2 separate regions of the Homo sapiens genome follow, and region 2 is linked to region 1. The links are contacts of gene promoters, found by promoter capture Hi-C in human tissues and cell types (Jung and others, 2019). All regions are on one chromosome and are shown on one strand. The core of a region is centred on a gene start or on the middle of the fragment in contact, and the rest is flanking DNA. Distances in the headings are between cores, read along the strand shown.

Region 1 (4,847 bases), core at 575-3,074:
AAACATAAATGAGAAACACAGAAACAAGTCGGAACTGTCAGTGATTCAACCTAGAAATAAGAACGAGCTGACACAAACAGTTAGGGAAAACTGTTTTGAGGACATGCAGTCCCTCCATTCCTCCACATCGTCAAGGTTTTATTCCTGGATCAAACAGGACCATCAAACCTCAGCGTTTGTTCTCCTGAAAAGCATATGCACTGAGTTCTGCTCTGTAACTGTGTTCTTTGTTTCTACAAAGAAATACTTATAGACAATTTACTGCATTTATTTCAGAATTGTTACTAGAACAATTAGAGATAATATTACAATAACTTGGATAATTCTGCAAAATTAAAAATCCTGCATCTAATTTGCCAACTGCACTATTTTGGATTTGCTACTTCAGTTTTATTTCCCTTAATGTCAATTTTTGCCTATTTCTATTTTTCCATTTTCAAAACATAAACCCTTATAAACTTCAGAAATCCATTTTTAAACAAACTGGGAATAAAGAAACAAGAATCTCACCTGGGATTTGTTCATTTTCCGCTCTTAGTGGAGGAAGGAGAGCTGAAGGATTAGAAAGGAAGAATGTCAGGAGAGCCTTCGCCGGCCTTGCAGTTCGGAGATTCACCTGCCTATACAGGTCCACACACAAGATACTTACGTGTCCATGTGTGGCTCCGATATATGCTGAGCTCAGACATGACACTTTTCACTGAGTGAATGTAAATATTTCTTATTGATTTATTACCAATTTAGGTTCTGTGACACAGAAAAATTAAAAACATGAAAAGATGAGTTTAACAAGTTAACAGTAATCTGAAGGAAAAAACACTATGGGTTTGTCAAAATTCCTTGTAGGGAAAAAAAAAAACTGAGGCCATATTGTTTATCTGTTTACCTGTTAACACCATTAATGCCCTGAGGTTAGATAATGCAAAAGACCTCTAAAAAAAGGGATAGGATGTTAAATGCAAGTTTAAAAATGTTTGTTCTAACTTGCTAACAATTCCTCAAAAGGATCTTTTAATGAGAAACTGTGATATAGAGTAACAAAATGGGCAGCAGTGGCTCGGGAAACTGCAGACTTGACTTCTAATCTCAGTTCTGCCTCTAAGGAATGACAAGATCTGAACTACTCACCTCCTCAAACTCAATTTTGTTTTTCCATCTTTCAAATAAGGTCAAAACAGATAACCCAAGTATGACCTGACTGCACTACCATCCGGCGGGGATATCAGGCCAAGAGAGGAGGAAGCTCAGCAGCTCATCTGGATGTGCCCGGTGTTCGCGGAGGGGTGATAACAGCATTTCTTTCGCTGTGGCCGTGAGCCTTTCACCCGTCCCTGCCCTCAGACTCTCCAGAGGTGACGTTCCTGTTAGCCTGCGCGCCCACCCCTCAGCTCCAGCTCACCTCTCTCTTCTTAAATTTGTCCCAGACCTTGCACCAGCACACAGACTCCGACGGCTTCAGGATACTGTGCCATGATTACACATAATACATAAGCGAACGCGAAACGTGTAAATAATTACTTGGGATAGGAGGGCGGTCAGAGCCAGCAGGGGCCCTGGTGGTCAGCTAGGCCAGCCCCTTCGCTCCTGCACTCCACGGGCAGAGAGGCCCTTGGGGCCGGTGCAGGAGCCGTCTCCCTCGGGCTCTCCCAGGGAACGCACACCCAATAAATACAGCACCTAAACAATGAAAGTGCTCAAAACAACCCCAGGCGGCAAGTATTCCTAATATCCGTAATTTACAGAGAGGAAAACCGAGTCTCCCGTGGATAATTGTGTCTAATTCATTTGTCGCGGACCTGGCGCAGTCGCTCTCCCCCGCAGCCCCGCCTCCTCCCCGCGGGCTCAGGGCACAAAAAGCGCACACGCACACATCAAACGCCATGCGCACGCGCACAACAAACGTCACACGCTACGCACGCGCGTGCTGTCCCCTCCCCGCAGCCAGTTCCCTCCCCTTCGGGCCAGTGCGCATTGCCTACCCCGTGCTACAGGACTTCGCTGAGCGCCAGGCGCAGGGACTGGACGCATACGGACCCCCGGGAGCCCCGGAACTCGCGTTCCCACGCCAGACCTCATCCCCTTCTGACAGAGACGCCCTCGTCCCACCGTCGCCGCAGGCGCCAGGGGTCCCTCCCCACCGCCGAGGTCTAGCCGCCGCCCGCCCGCCTTCAGGGCAGCGCGGGGACCCCCTGGCCCTCGCCCAGTGCTCCGGGGCTCACCCGCCGCTCCTCGCCGCCTCCGGAGGCGAGGGATTGTTTCCCACAAGGGACTGGAGTCCAGGGAAGGACTCGCCTGGAGCGGGAGGCGGGGATGCACATGCGCAGAGGGAGAGGCCGAGCGCCCGAGTTAGGCTGGTGGATGCGATGCGGGGCTTGGAAGCGGCGCTAGACGGTGCCTGTCAGCTCTGGCCGCAACCCTCAGTTGTAAAATGAGGCTGATAGTGCCTACCTAGCAGGGGTTTTATGAGAATTGGAGGCGCTTACGTTGTAAAAGCATTTAAACCGGTGTCTGACACATAAATTGTTCAGTATATTTCTCACAATTATATATCATGCTGGTCATCATAAGGCTCTCCTGCAAAACAGCCTTGTATAGTGGGTTGAGAGATTACTGTCTCAGTTACCCACTCCTGCTTGGAACCAGGATTCTGTCAGTGTCCCCAGAGGTTGTGGATCAAATCAATGTGCCTGTTAGACACAAGCCAAGAGAAGGAAAGGTGTGCTTGAATTCATTCACGATCATGCATGGTAACGTTTAACTGAAAGACTGGAAGAGAAAACTAAAATCTGTGACCAGTATGGTTATTCTCTGGAATAAGGAAAAACAGAAGCTAGCAATTCAAGACCCAAACATAAAATTGTTTATATGTTTAAAAAAAAAAAAGCCGTTTGAGTAACAAATTTGAAGAAGAAAGCACGCACTCATTTCCCAAAACCAACCATACTTTACCCAGAACTACACTACACGTACATTCTTTTACGTGCACATCTGGCATTTTCAGCACACTATGAGCATGTGCGTGTGTTACAACTTTTCATTTAAAAAATCAACTCCTGGGTCATTGTCCACTTTTTTAAACTTTTCATTTGCTCATAATTTCAGATTTACAGAAGAGTTGCAAAATAGTTCCTATATGCCTTTCACCCAGATTCCACTAGTGTTAGTATTTTACATGACCATGGTATATTTATCAAAACTAAGAAAATAACATAGGTACAAGTACTATTAACTGAACTGCAGAGTTTATTCAGACTTAAGCAGTTCTTCCACTAATGCCCTTTTTCTGTTCCAGCAACCAATCAAGGATATTGTCACCGGGGGTCCTTGCTCCCAGAGCTCCCAAGATGGTGGTGGGCTGCTTCCGAGATGGGGGCAAGCCTCATGTTCTCTGACCTGGGGTTCTTGGCCTCATGGATTACAAGGAATGGAATTTTGGGCTATGTGGTGAGTGTTATAGCTCAATTAGAAGCCGTGGGTCACGGAAGAGAACTGTGGAACCCAGTGACTAGTGTTCAGCTCGATTAGGACCAACCTGGGACTTAGCTGTGCAGGAACAATGGCAAGCCTTTAGCCCAACTTGGGAGCAGCAATGGGCACCTCGCTGGATCAGGAGCACAGCGGACACCCTGCCAGATCCGGAGGGATGGAAGTCAGCGGCGGGTCTGCGAAGGCCGCAAACAGCAGCGGTGGACAGCGAGCGAAAGCTCAGCTCAAGCCGTAACAAACACGGACCAGAAGAGAGTGCAGTTGCAAGATTTAATAGAATGAAAACACAGCTCCCATGCAAAGGGAGGGGACCCAAAGTGGGTAGCTGTTGCCGGCTCCAATGCCTGGGTTTCTATCCCGATCATTGTCCCTCCCGCTGTGCTCTTAGGCAATAGATGATTGGCTATTTCTTTACCTACTGTTTTTGCCTAATTAGCATTTTAGTTAGTTCTCTTTACTACCTGATTGGTCGGATGTGAGCTAAGTGCAAGCCCCTTGTTTAAATGTGGATGCAGTCAACTTCTCAGCTAAGCTTAGGGATTCTTAGTCGGCCTAGGAAATCCAGCTAGTCCTGTCTCTCAGTATCACAGTACATTTACTTGTCATGTCTTAGCCTTGGCCAGTTTGTAATAGTTTCTTGCTCCTACCTTGTCTTTCATGACCTTGCTATGAAGATGAAAGCACGCTCTCTTGACTTCAGTCCTCCCACCTTGGCTTCCCAAAGTGCTTGGGATTACAGGCATGAGCAACCACACCCAGCCTATAGTTTAACTTTAAAACAAGAACGATAATGATCCCTTCCTGAAACTAACCCCCTCCTTGTTTGGGGACAAAAACCGTTTTTGTAAAACTAGTGGAAGTCCACAAGTTTAGAATTTTGGTAGGAACCTGAATTCTGTAAGATGCAGGCATAAACTCTAACCAGTTTTTGCTTTTATAATCTGCCTTTTTGTAACTGCTTACTACTCCAGAGTCACATAGCCAGTGGTCACAAGATTTATAACATCTCCAATTGTCACTATAGATAATGTCACTATTGTAAAACCTAAAACTAGTGTTTGAGTTATTTTTCAGACTTTACATTCTGATGGACCAACTGGTGCCACTGGGACCAGTAACCCATAGCAAAAAATGGACTCAGTTGATCCTGTGACCCCCTTCAAGAACCGATTCAACACAAGAAGACAGTTTCAACAGCCCTATGATTTCATCCCTGACCCAGCCAATCACCATTCCCCATTCTCTAGCCTCCTGATGGGCAGGAGGCTAGAGAGGTTCAAAGTTTTTCATCCTTGAAAGACTGTAGCCTCCAAATTCTCAGGAAGGCAGATTTGAGAATTATCTCTTATACTTGCTTGGCC
Region 2 (5,463 bases), core at 1,695-4,194, 560 kb after region 1:
ACAACTTGATAAATCAACTTTGTGAGGTAAGTCTTCAGTCTTAAGTCAGATTAGAAGATTATGTGAGGTAATTAACACTTAACATTGATTTAATGGTAGCTTCCACATGAAATAGTATGCCTCTAAGTATTAATTATGTCCTAGGACAGGAGAATTCATGTTGTCAAAATTCTCATACTCTCTAGAACAATAAACTTATTTTCTTTTTATTAGTAAATATTGCATTTATGGGTAGACAAAACTGAAAGAACAATATTTGTTCTACTTTTGAGATGCAAGATTCATCCGGCATAATGCATTGAACCGGTTGTTATTGAAGTCTACACCAGTCAACTGAATAAGCATTCATCAAATGTCCATGATATGCAGGACATAAGTTTTCTTTTAGAGTATGGAACCATGCATATTATCTTTTAATTAGATGATTTAGTTAGACATGTTTTTAAAGAACTAGAAATATAATTGATTTTCTTGTTTTGGCTCTGGAGTGGAGTGGGGACGAAACAGAATGGATTCACACTGTTTAGATTTACTAAAATGGAAGGATTGCAGCAAGATCATATCCCTAGTCTCCCCATAGCAAATGTCACCTGCTAGCTGTTTTTTTTTTGGAGGTTGAAGTTTTGTTCTGTCGCCCCCGCTGGAGTGCAGTGGTATGATCTCAGCTCATGGCAAGCTCACCTCCTGGGTTCAAGCAATTCTCCCTGCCTCAGCATCCTAAGTAGCTGGGATTACAGGCCTCTGCCACCATGCCTGCCTAATTTTTGTATTTGTAGTAGAGTTGGGGTTTCACCATGTTGGCCAGGCTGGCCTTGAACTCCTGACTTCAGGAGATTCACCCGCCTCAGCCTCCCAAAGTGCTGGGATTATGGGTGTGTCACTGCACTTGGATTTAATGGAATATTTCACTACAGACTTTGGTAAACAGAATATTAGCATTTTTGGTGTTCTTTTTATTTTACTCATACTATTTTTCTTTGGACTCAATCACAATAACAGAATTAAAGATCAAAGTGTAAAAGTTAAAGACCAGTACAGATTCAATAATTATTCTTTTCTACATACTGTGTTTAATTGATATCCCTTTTTCTTTTTGTTCTTATAGCTCGAGCTGTAAAAGCCAAAGGTCCAGTGATGATCCCATACCCTTTTGTCCAGTCTCATGTTGAAGATTTTTATGTAGAAGGCCTTCCCAAAGGAATTTTTTTTTTTTTTTTGAGATGGAGTTTTCACTCTTATCGCCCAGGCTGGGGTGCAATGGCGCAACCTTGCTGGTCACTGCAACCTCTGCCTCCTGGGTTCAAGAAATTCTCTTGCCTTAGCCTCCCAAGTTGCTGGGATTACAGGTGCCCACCACCACACCAGGCTAATTTTTGTATTTTTAGTGGAGATGGGGTTTCACCATGTTGGCCGGGCCAGTCTCGAACTCCTGACGTCAAGTGATCTTCCCGCCTCGACTCCTGACATCAAGTGATCTTCCCACCTCGGCCTCCAAGAGTGCTGAGATTACAGATGTGAACCCATGCCTGGCCAGGAATTTTGTTTTTTAGGAAGGCTTTCTACTAATGGAATTCCTGGCCTTGAGAGGATGTTACTTTCGAAGGAAAGGATTTTTTTGTTATTAAAAGGTAAGATTCCTGGATTCTTATTGGACTGTTATCTCTGTTATGAGTAATCCATCTTTAGTCATTCACCACTAGGGTTGTATTTAATTAAGTCTGAGTTATTTTATGGTGGTTTTGTTTTGTTTTGTTTTTACTGAATTTTTTTCTCATTGCCGTGGCTTGAGGGCAATGGCGTGATTTCAGGTCACCACATTCTCTGCCTTCCAGGTTCAAGCAATTCTGCCTCAGCCTCCTGAGTAGCTGGATTTACAGGCATGTGCCACCATGCCTGGCTAATTTTTTGTATTTTTAGTAGAGATGGTGTTTCACCATGTTGACCAGGCTGGTCTAGAACTCCTGACCTTGGGTGATCCACCCGCCTCGGCCTCCCAAAGTGCTGGGATTACAGGCATGAGCCACTGCGCCCAGCCTGGGCCTGCTTCTTTCTCTTTTTCTTTTTTTTTTCATTAGCAGCTTAAAATTGGTGCCTTATTCAGACACAGGCAAAAGGACATTAGCCCAGCTTTGGAAATAGGTGTGAGCCCATATATGATTTTCCTAGTTTCTCCTCCCCCTTTGCTTTTTGCTCTCTTAGTATATTAATTGTTTTCACTCTCTGAATCTTTTTTCCCCATTTCTTTGGCAGACATTTTTACTTGTCTTGGAAGAGTAGGTGAAGAGCTGTTTTTAGGACTCTTTGAAAGGGTACAGTATGGGTGACAGTCTTGGCTAATGGTAACATCCAGGGAGCTGGGGTCAGCGTGAGCAAATTAGCAAAGCACTGGCACTCAGTGGCAGGAATACAAGTGACTGCAAAGTGTTAAACACATCTGGAAAGGGATACTGACATCATCCTCAGAATCTGTGGGGAGTTCACATAGCCAGTTAAGACCCATTCCTCTTTGACCCTATAAAGATTCTTTAAAGAATAATACCCTTAGTGGTTTTCTAGCCAGCTTGCCTGCTCATTTATCTTTGAGAACGACATGCCTTGTGGAGCTCCACAGGCCCCAGAGGGGTATGGATTCTGCATTTGAAAGTGCTGGAGCTGAGAGACTGGGTCTTGGTGGACCCCAAGAGGCCTGTTTCTCCTCTACTCATTGTTCTATTTTTTCCCAGCAGCTGGCATTGCTGTTTAAATGGGTTGTTCTTTGCTGTTTTAAGTTGTTTCATAGTGGTGTGTCAGGATTTGGGTTTTCTTAATACTTTCCAAGCTGGTGACTTGAGTGGTGCTTAGGGAGGAACTGTTTTAGGGCTGTTCTGGAGCTATAGAGGTCAGGTGTCTAGATACTCCCAGCTTGTCTGTTGAGGAGAATGCTGTTCTCATTGTGCTGCCTTTGGTGGTGCTGTGTGTGGCTCTTTAGATGTGGGTGGAGGTGAGCTGGGGGAGTTAATGAGATCTTTTTTAGGTGCTTTTGATAAAGTAGCCTGCACTACAGGATTCACTGTGACTTTTTTCCTTAACCTATGCATTTCTCTCTGCTAGCTTTTGCTGTCTTTCTCATGCCTTTGATTTTCCCAGCTCCTCTTAGTTGAATTAACCTAAGTGCTCTGCTATGGTTTAAATGTGTCCCCCAAAGTTTATGTGCTGGAAACTCAATCCTCAATGCAACAGTTGGGATGTGGGGCCTAATAAAATAGCCTTCATGAATGAGTTAATGTTGTTATTGTGGTAATAGATTAGTAATCACAGAGTGGGCTTATTATAAAACAGAGTTCAGCCCCTTTTGCCCTCTTGCTTTCTTGCACTCTCTTTTCCTTCTGCCTTCTGTAGTGGGATGATGCAGCAAGAAGACCCTTACCAGATGCAGGCCCCTCAACCTTGGACTTCCTAACATCCAGAACTGTTAAGAAATAAAATTTATTCCTTTCCTTTCCTTTTCTTCCTCCTTTCCCTTCTCCCTTTTCTTCCCTTCCCCTTCCTCCCTCTCTCTCTCCCTCCCTCCCTCCCTCCTTCCCTCCGTTCCTCCTTCCCTCTTTCTCTCTTTCCCTTCCTTCCTTTCCTTCTTTCCCTTCCTTCCTTTCCTTCCCTCCTTCCGTCTTTCCCTCCTTCCCTCCTTCCTTCCTTTTTTCTTTCCTTCCTTTTTTCCTTTTTATAAATTATGCAGTCTGTGGTATTCTTTTATAGAAGCATGAAATGGACAAAGACTCCGTTTTCAAGAGCAAGCACTTTTGTAGTTTCTGAGTGAATTATGACTGCAAAGGAAGTTCTATAGGTAGCCTCAGATCCACTACCTAGGAAGCATGCTACCAAGCAGACCTAGGATCTAGGATTTGATCAAGTGCTGGGCAACATGATACCTCTGCAATTTAGCACCTCCCTATATACCTCCAGTTGGCTCAGCCCATCAGGGCTAAAACTACCCCTCATATCCTAGTGTCTCTTGTAGGCAGAAGCCTTGCCTAAACCCTAAGCTGCTTGGCTCACATTCTGTCTTGTGCTTTTTTTGTAGGGGGTTCAAATATACACAAAAGAAATATGTTGAACCTCCATGCACCCAACCCGCAGATTAAGCAGTTACCTCCATTTTTCCAGATTTGTTTTGTCTGCTTCAATCTCCCTAAAAATTTATGTTTGTACAGGAAAGACTGAATAAATAGCTAATTCTCCACCCTACCTCTCATCTTAAGTCACTTTTCAGAGTAGTAAGTTAGTGACCTAGTAACCTTCCCTCTAATGACCAGTAGTTTTTTTTCTGAATACCATTATGAACTCATAGATTATTGTTTGCATTTGATGTATTTCAGGCCATTACAGTCTTTATTGTTTTGGATGCTTTCATTGTCTCATCTAGGTTAATAATTATCTCTTCAAGTTGACTTTCATGTCTTTTTGACGGGATCCTGTTGGACTTTGATGGCTTCCTTGCTTTCTGGCAAAAAAGATGTTCCAGGATCAATATACTGCACCATACATGGAGTCAGCCATTTCTCTAGGGAACCTTGATTCCTTTTAGTAGAGAACACAGTTTGAGGTCTTGGACTGAATGACTTTTGTGAACCTCCTCTCCTGAGACTACAGCCTGCATCCCTGCATATAGCCCGTTTGGAGCTCTTGCTGGGCACCAACAGATCTCCTAAAACTGCTATGTAGTTCTGCCTCACTCTTACAAAGATTCATCTCTTGAGAGTTTTGTGCTCTACCCTCAGATGTGGTCTTTCTGGTTCTGAAGCTTTTGCTTCAGTCACCCTGAATTTTGCCAGCCCTATGCATGCTATACCTTGGATTGCCAACTTGCCCTCACTGAAGCCAGTTTCTCAGGTTAGAATAGTTGCCCCAACCCATGCCTAATACTCTAGTAAATAAGGTTCTACCTGGGCTTACGTTAACTTTTGCTCCTTTGGGCCCTGTGTTCTACCAGCATTCCATTTATCTGAAACTGTCCCTCACCTTAAGAACGTATCTGTTCTTTAATGATTTACTGCTGCTTCCTGGGCTCGAAAGAATCCAGTTCAGGAGTTTCTGTTTTAGTTTGAGATCTTATAGTCCTGTCTCATCAGGTTGGTGTCAGCCCAGCTAGGATTAGGCAGAATTGGGTGGGGGCTGTAGTGCATTTTTGGCACAGCATGTACCTATCTGACTAATTCTCTGTCTTTTCTTTCCTGTTGTAATTCATGGGTCTTAGCATCTTCTGAATGGTGTTTAGTAGGTCATCCTGTTGATTTCTTGCTAGGGAGTAGCATACTCTGGCTCTGTACCATTGGCCAAGGGGCTTAAGGATAGATGAAGGGCTGCAGTTTTGTTAAATGGAACAATATGAAGAGATGGCATTGTAAAAAAAAAAAAAGGCTTGGCAGCAGGGCCCATTTGAATGGTTGGTCCTTGGCTCCTTTGTTGATATAGGCAGATCCTTGATGG

What was found. Contacts are between HindIII fragments. The study calls those that stand out against the background at their distance.
Region 2: a fragment that was not itself captured here is called in contact with the fragment with the promoter of ZNF248 in region 1 in 1 of the 25 tissues and cell types used here (spleen).

Annotation. Positions count from the first base shown.
Region 1 is chr10:37,855,786-37,860,632 of GRCh38, forward strand. It overlaps ZNF248 (zinc finger protein 248), which reads right to left and starts at 1,825. Exons shown (of 6, transcript NM_021045.3): 1 at 1,400-1,825; 2 at 650-747; 3 at 511-552. The coding sequence starts at 525. It overlaps ZNF248-AS1 (ZNF248 antisense RNA 1), which reads left to right and starts at 1,964. Exons shown (of 2, transcript NR_186559.1): 1 at 1,964-2,716; 2 at 3,293-4,847. RefSeq lists an enhancer at 1,318-1,377 and silencers at 1,695-2,071, 1,768-2,317. The HindIII fragment of the contact is 12,949 bases long and covers 1-4,847 here.
Region 2 is chr10:38,415,577-38,421,039 of GRCh38, forward strand. It overlaps LOC101929540 (a long non-coding RNA gene), which reads left to right. Exons shown (of 10, transcript XR_007062122.1): 6 at 1-26; 7 at 1,106-1,628. Among named protein-coding and RNA genes, the nearest start is that of LINC00999, 9.8 kb to the right of the region's middle. The HindIII fragment of the contact is 4,889 bases long and covers 501-5,389 here.